Linked DNA regions of Homo sapiens: region 2 is linked to region 1. The links are contacts of gene promoters, found by promoter capture Hi-C in human tissues and cell types (Jung and others, 2019). All regions are on one chromosome and are shown on one strand. Each heading gives the region's core, a stretch centred on a gene start or on the middle of the fragment in contact. The rest is flanking DNA. Distances are from core to core; before and after follow the strand shown. Region 1 holds the start of PPIH (peptidylprolyl isomerase H). Region 2 has its middle 22 kb from the start of CLDN19.

Region 1 (4,018 bases), core at 1,475-3,974:
ACAGTCTCCAGCTCATCTTTAGTGTAGTGGGACTGCTTCTTCAGAAAAGATCAGCAACATTCACATCCATTTCATCTATCAGGGTGGAACAGTACTGCTCAGTATCTCTGAGGATGTGGATGTTCTATAAATTAAACGTTCTCTTGTTTGGCATTTAAGCTGTTTTTACTTTTTTTTTTTTTTTTTTTTTTTTGAGACAGGGTCTCACTTTGTAACCCAGGCTGGAGTGCAGTGGTTTGATTACTGCTCATGCAGCCTCAACCTCCCATGCTTAAGTGATCCTCTCTCCTCAGCCTCTCCCAAGTACAGGCATGTGCTACCATGCCTGGCTCATTTTTGTACTTTTTGTAAAGACGAGGTCTCACTCTCACTCTATTGTTCAAGCTGGTCTCAAATTTCTGGGCTCAAGTGATCCTCCCACCTAAGCCTCCTAGGTGATAGGATTATAGGATGAGCCTCTATGCCAGGCCTGGTTTTACTTTGTTACTATTTAAGATTATGCTGTGTTGAAGGTCTTTGTGCATGTAGTTCTTTTCTTCTTTTGAATTACTCCAGAAAACAAATTCGCAAGATTGGACTGAGTCAAAGGATATAAATGTTAATATTGCTCTAGGACATCACTTCCTTTGCTTTAAAAAAGGGTTCTGCCTGACCAGGTGCGGTGGCTCACGCCTATAATCCCAGCATTTTGGGAGGCCGAGGCAGGTGGATCACTTGAGGCCAGGAGTTCAAGACCAGCCAGGCCAACATGGCAAAGCCCTGTCTCTACTAAAAATACAAAAATTAGCCGGGTATGGTGGTGCACACCTGTAGTCCCTGCTATGCGGGAGGCTGAGGCTCGAGAATCACCTGAACCCAAGAGGTAGAAGTTTCAGTGAGCTGAGACCACTCCACTGTACTCCAGCCTGGGCAAAAAGTGAGACTCTGTCTCAAAAAATAATAATAATAAATACATAAATAATAAAATAAATAAAAAGTGTGTCAACATACTGTTTTCATAGTCAAGTTACTCAACCTCCTTGAGCCTCAATTTCTTGATTCCTAAAATGGGAACAATAATAGTTCTCTATCCCATAGGGTTGTGAGGACCAAATGAAATGAAGCATGTAAAGTATTTAGCACGTAGTAACTGCTTAATAAATGCTATCATCATTTATTTTCACTAGAGGTTTATCAATGTACTATTTTTTTCACAACCTCATCAACATTGGATATTATCAATTTTAAAGATTTATTCTAAAACAGTTGGTATAAAATTATACTGAAGCGTGACTGCTGCTGTTCCTTTTCCCCCTCCTCCCCTTTCTTCTTTTTCAGTTGGAGGAGACCAAGAGGAGAGGATCAGTAACCAGAAATAAAAATGACCCTTTACATTGAGACACACTGTATTTTTATATGTAATCCTTGCTTTCTCAGACAACAGAGCTAGAAAGATGATCATAGGAACTAGGAAATAATAACTATTTTATTAAATGCATGCTGTTATATTGAATGAGCCTTGCCCAAGGTCCCCTTCTTTCACTAAATTCATTGCATCTATTATTTATTGAATACCTACTATATGCTATTCAGTAGGCGACATTGCAGCTACAGCTGCGAATAGGACCAGGAGAGTCTCTACTTTCATGGAGTTTATATGCTATCAGGGAGGAAGATTATGTGTGTGTGGCAGGAAATGAGGTGTAGACACATACCATACGAAGATAATGTGGAAGTGGGGGTGGCATGAAGAAAACAAACCAGTGATCTGAATGACCAAGGGCTACTTTAGATTAGGTCTAATGTTGCCTCTCAGGAGGTAACATCTGGGGTGAGCCCTGAACTACAAGGAGCATTACTTCCCACACGCATACCCCAACCAACCCCCACAATCCCCCGCCAACCCACATTAAGTTCTGGAAGGAATATTTCAGACAGAAGTAACAGCTATTACAAAGCCCTAAAGAGAGGAGGGATCTCAGTGACCTGGAGGAACAGACAGGTCAGAGCACAGTAACTAAGGGCAAGTGGTACAAGATGAGGTCAGGTACGTGATAGCCAGATAAATGCACTGTAGGGCTTCGTATGCACGGAATTGGATTTTATTCTAAATATGGGAAGCCAGGAGTTATTTTTAAAATAAATAGGAAGCACAAGAGTTATTTTAAAAATAAAAAATAAAAAACTCTAGTTGCTTTATGGGAAATGAATTGGAAATGACAAAACTGGTAGCTTTTGTGGCAGAACAAACATTATCTATTGTCCTGACTTAGAGGAAGGGATATTTACTTAGCAAGCCTGTACGTGCCAAGCTGTTCTAAACGCTGAGGATGAACAAACCAGAGTTCCTGCCTTCACGGTGTTCACACTAGCGGGCAGAAGACAGACAGCACGTGTGGCGGTGCAGAGGGCTTGGCTGCAAGAGCCGATAAGGAGGACCCTGGCGACTGCCTAGTCCAAAAGTCCTAGCTAGAGCAAGATCAACTTGTACTGCCCTTAGTACAGCCACGTGAGTGGGGTGACCATTGACCTTAACCAAAAAGATGTCAAGGCTTTCCTCCTCCTCACTCCCGCGTCCCCAGTGCCAGGCAGAGTCTCTCAGCTAGACCCTAGCAGTCTCAGCACACACCGCACGGGGCGACAGCTTCCGGGGGCGGAGCCTGGTCTCGCTCCACGTCTACCGCGCCTGCTCCCCGGACGAAATCCGCGGACCGGGCTTTAGGTTCGCCGGAATCCCACGCTCCCGACTTCTGCTTCCGGGTCGGAGCCATGGCGGTGGCAAATTCAAGTCCTGTTAACCCCGTGGTGTTCTTTGATGTCAGTATTGGCGGTCAGGTGAGATCCAGGAGGCTGCCCACACCTGCGCCGAAGGGAAACTGCTCGGGGCTAGGCAGGCAGAACTCACCCAGAGAGAGCGGACTCGGGAAGCCAGCCAGAAAGTGAAATTGCACCCGAACCTACCGACCTGCCGGGCGGGGGGAAAGGAGGAGGAGGAGTCTCCCCAATCCTAGCGCCCCGCTTCTGGAGGAACTGGGCGGTTAGACTAGGGAGGCGGAGGTGGGAGATACCGAGCGGCAGGGTGGTGGGTCAGCCCATCATGCCCCCTGCTCCGTGAAGCCCTCATGGTCTTGGACTGGGCCTTCTGACACTCTCCCGCTGATTGCAGGAAGTTGGCCGCATGAAGATCGAGCTCTTTGCAGACGTTGTGCCTAAGACGGCCGAGAACTTTAGGTAAGGACGTGCTCCAGCTCCGCTGGATTAGCTGAGGCAGAAGTCGGGCTCCAGTCAGCCGCCTGAAATAGCCTGTCTACCTCTGTCCGTCCGCTCACTGCTCTTGAGACCTGATTCCTCCATGCATTGCTCTGTCTGGTTGCCGTTTGGATTGTTCCCGTGTTAATTTACGTTGTTAGTCTGTGTGACTGCGTGTCTGGACGTCTGGCTGGCCGATTGGTGGACTTGCTGGCTCCAGTGTTTATTCTTTCCCGTATTTAGAGGCGCTCACGACTGTGACATCATAGTGATTGAATCATTCATTTTTTGTCCCTTTCAGGCAGTTCTGCACCGGAGAATTCAGGTCAGTTTCAGATGTGTTTGACTTCTTTGCCTGCTCCAGAGGGGTGTTCTGGGGCTGCAGTGAGGGTATCGGTGAACCACCTGCTGGCCTTGAATGATTGCTGGTGACAGTGATAGAAGGTAATGCCCCAAGGGTCTGTCCCTAGTTTATTTGCCTTCTTTATGTCTGTCAACCATCTTTAGGAGAGTCCTTTTGGCTCCAGTGCATGGTAAACTGGAAAGGCCTTGTGCTACCTGCTGTCACTCCAAGTCTCTTTCTTTTCGGTTATAGGAAAGATGGGGTTCCAATAGGATACAAAGGAAGCACCTTCCACAGGTAAGGCTCTTGGCAAGCCATCCTGGAGTCTTTCAGAAATATTTCCTGGGGGATTAGGCTCTTTAGAGGAAAATAAAACCAGAGGGTAATTCTTACATTTCTTGAGAAGAAATGTTTTTGTGGACTCAACAACTGAAGATTTATTAAATG
Region 2 (3,849 bases), core at 1,282-3,781, 61 kb after region 1:
GTAGTTAGTGGGTGTGGAAAGGACAGTGAGGGGATACAGGAATTAAATCTTGAAGGAATGCTTCTGGATAATGAGTTTAATCCAGAAACTCATTGGACTAAATGAATTTTGTCCATCGCTTCAAAGAAGGGGTTTTTGAGGGCTTTGGAGAGAGGGAAAATTGTGGCAGTGGTGGCTCATACCTGTAATCCCAGTACTTTGGGAGGCTGAGGCAGGAGAAATATGTGAGCTCAGGAGTTTGAGACCAGTCTGGGCAACAAAGTGAGACCCCATCTCTAAAAAAAGAAATAAAAAATTAGCCAAATTTGGTGGTGTATGCCTTTAGTCCCAGCTACTCTGGAGGCTGAGGTCGAAGATCACTTGATCCCAGGAGGTTGGGGCTCCAATGAGCCATGATTGAGCCACTGCACTCCAGCCTGCGTGACAGAGTGAGACCCTGTCTTTAAAAAAAAAAGAAAAAAAAAGTGGCAATAATGTAACAAAGGAGACTTAGCCCACCACCAGACACCATGGTATTTGGGACATAGGAGAAAAAAAAACAGACTCCATTGAAAGGGCTCCAAGGGAATAAGGTTGTGGAGGTAAGTATGATTAGAGAAAGAGTAAAAAGCTGAATAAGAACATACACAGAAGAGGCTGTACCTGAATTCCAGCGGGCCCCTGAGAAGGTTGGGAAGGGAGCTATATTGAGTTAGATTAGGAGATGTAGAGAGCTAATGAGAATTAACAGTCAGGCAGTGACAGCTGACTGGGGAAGTTTGGACGCCTAGCTGAGACTGAGGCACACAGTCAAGTGTAATGCATGACAGGTTAGGTCCCAAAGTCCAGATGAGTAATGAGACCTCAACCAGAAATATGGAGTAAGAAAGAGGGGCTCAAGTTTGAGATATTTTCAGAAATCGAGTTGGCAGATGTAGGTAACTAGCTGAATGCACGGATGACTGCAGAATGTTGATGCAGATACTGTCATTCGCTGGAATAAAAACATGCATAAAGAGGAGAGGGGTCTGATAGCTCAGTTGAGATATGTGGAGTTTGAGGACCTGTGGGGGCACCCATGGGGAGTGTGTCGGAAGCTAAGGAGGGAGGTGTAGGCCGAGGCAGAGTGACACTCATCAGGTGGCTATTGGAAGCTGTGATCATGGGTAAAATCATATCCCTTTAGGGGCATTTGTGGAGAGATGAGGATGGAGACACAAACTTTTGGAACAAGGTCAAGACATAGAAGTGATGGCTAGAAAAAGATGTGGCAAATCCAGAAAGGGGGCATCACAGAAAACTGGGGAGCAAAATAGGAAATTGCTCACAACATCAAAGCCAATAGGTCCAAGAAGATGGGAGTTGAAAAGTGTTTACTGGCCTTAGCAACCAGGAGATGACTGGTGAGAGGAGTGGAATGTGGAGGTGACCCTCAGACTGCAGCAGGCGAGGGGTGCATAGGGCAGCTACAGCGCACCTGCTGCTCCCGCAGCCTTCCGCATCTCCACAATGGCTGGTCCATCCTTACAGGTCCATGCCAAAACCCTCAGTCATCCTTGACTTCTCAATTTCCCTCCAATGAGTCTGCAGATTCCATTGATTCTGACTTTGAAACAGCTAGAATCTGACCACTTACCTCTGACCACTTGGGTCCAGGCTGTGGTAGCCTCCCTGCTACCATCTTCCTACCCTAACACCTGTGTCAGGCCTCGAGACACTCCTGCTCAAAATCCTTCAGAGGCTTCCAGTCTCACTTTTGAGCAGAAGCCAGCATCCTCCAGGAGCCTCCACAATGTGCCCCCACCTGCCCCATGCCATCTACTCTCTCCCCTGGTTTACTCCACCCAACCTCACAGGCTTCCTTTTCATGGCACTCTTCCACCTCAAGGCATTCACACCTGTTTTTCCCTTCTGACTGGAAGAATGTTCTGCCGGATAAGTTAGTGGCTTTCTTCCTCAGTTCTTTAGGTCTTTGATCAGCAGGGCCTCCCCTGCCTACCTGTTTAAGATGGCCACCCCTTCCCATGGCCAGCCCCCAATTCCTGGCCTTCCTGATTTTCCTCCATGGTGCATGTCATCTGCTGGCTACATTAACTTGCTTGCTAACTATCTTGCTCTGATAGGAGTTAAGCTACATAAGGGTAGGGATTTCTGTCTGTTTTGTTCACTGCTGCTATATCCCAGCATCTATAATGGGGCTAAAAGAGTACAGAACAAAAGCTCAATACGTATGTTGAAATTAATAAATTATGGATAACCATGAAGAGGCTTGGCAGCTGAGTGAAGGAAACGAGGGCTGCTGCTAGAAAGGGACTGTGGAACCATGTCTTAGCCTGCTTGGGCTGCTGTAGCAAAATACCAGAGACTAAGTGGCTTAAGCAGTAGATATTTATTTCTCATGGTTCTGGAGACTGGCAAGTCCAGGTCAAGGTAACAGTAGATTTGGTTCCGGTGAGGGTCCTCTTCTGACATGGATTGCACAAAGCCACCTTCACCACCACCTCACGGTGTCCTCACATGAGAGAAACTTGGAAAGCAACTCGGAGTAAGAAAACCTGAGCTCTAGTCCTGCCAATGAAACTTCATCTTAAGTCCTAACGATCACCTCCTTTGCCAATACCAGAAGCCACTTGCCTCCGGAATCCAGGACATGGGAGAAAATTAAACACCTAATTAAAAAAAAAGGGGTATAAATAGTACTCACTTCCTAAAGTTGTGAGGATGAAACAAGAATCAATGAAACCACATTTTGTTAGTGCTCAATAAGTCTTGGCTGACTGGGTACAGTGGCTCATGCCTGTAATCTCAGCACTTTGAGAGGCCGAGACAGGAGGATCATTTGAGCCCAGGAGTTTGAGATCAGCCTGAGCAACATAGTGAGACCCAATCTCTTAAAAAAATTTTTTTTGGGCCGGGCACGGTGGCTCACACCTGTAATCCCAGCACTTTGGGAGGCCGAGGCGGGTGGTTCATGAGGTCAGGAGTTTGAGACCAGCTTGATCAACATGAAGAAACCCCGTCTCTACTAAAAATACAAGTGGTGGCGTGCGCCTATAATCCCAGCTACTCAGGAGGCTGAGGCAGGAGAATCACTTGAACCCGGGAGGCGGAGGTTGCGGTGAGCTGAGATCATGCCACTGCACTCCAGCCTGGGCGACAGAGCGAGACTCCGTCTCAAAAAAAAGAAAACAAAAAAAATTTTTTTTTTGCCGGGCATAATGGCACATGCCTGTAGTCCCAGCTACTTGGGAGGCTGAGGCGGGAGGATGGCTTGAGCCTGGGAAGTCAAGGCTGCAGTGAACTATGATTGCACCACTGTACTCCAGCCTGGGCAACAGGGCAAAACTCTGTCTCAAAAAAATAAATAAGTTTTGTGTTATTATTACAGGAATAATGTAAGGATAAACTGAGATAATAGGTATAAAAATTGTAAACTGTAAAAGTGTAGTTGCCACAAGAAAGTGGTTTATAGACCTCCAACTACAGGGAGTGTAATTAACCAAGGGCCGGAGTTGCTTTGCTCTAAAATTTACCACCTTATTTGCCCTGAGGCTCTGCTTACCAAATGCTCCCAAGCTGATGGCTGAGTGTGGCAGGGATTCTAAAACAGGCCTTTTCCTGGGAGACATGGGACTGACAGCCGACTATGCCTCAAGGTCTCCCCTGATGCTCATGCCAAGCTTTCCTTAGACTTATGTAGTGATCTAGGATGCTTCCACCCAGCATCCTGGGCCAGGCTGGCATCACTGTGGGATGGCTCTCCCAGCTGCCTCTCCATTTTCTCTCACAAATATTTCCCTAATAAAATTCTTACATATTTAATCCCACTAGGGGGTCTACTGTTTGGAGGACCCAGACTATCATAAAAAG

The links. The method cuts DNA at HindIII sites, captures the fragments that hold promoters and counts their contacts. A contact is called where the count stands out against the background at its distance.
Region 2: a fragment that was not itself captured here is called in contact with the fragment with the promoter of PPIH in region 1 in 1 of the 25 tissues and cell types used here (pancreas).

Annotation. Positions count from the first base shown.
Region 1 is chr1:42,655,699-42,659,716 of GRCh38, forward strand. It overlaps PPIH (peptidylprolyl isomerase H), which reads left to right and starts at 2,725. Exons shown (of 10, transcript NM_006347.4): 1 at 2,725-2,814; 2 at 3,146-3,210; 3 at 3,530-3,553; 4 at 3,824-3,868. The coding sequence starts at 2,749. CCDC30 (coiled-coil domain containing 30) reads left to right here. Exons shown (of 21, transcript NM_001395517.1): 21 at 1-1,492. All of the region lies in intron 1 of LOC124904162 (a long non-coding RNA gene), which reads right to left. The HindIII fragment of the contact is 7,698 bases long and covers 1-4,018 here.
Region 2 is chr1:42,716,539-42,720,387 of GRCh38, forward strand. No RefSeq gene overlaps it. Among named protein-coding and RNA genes, the nearest start is that of CLDN19, 22 kb to the right of the region's middle. The HindIII fragment of the contact is 7,093 bases long and covers 1-3,849 here.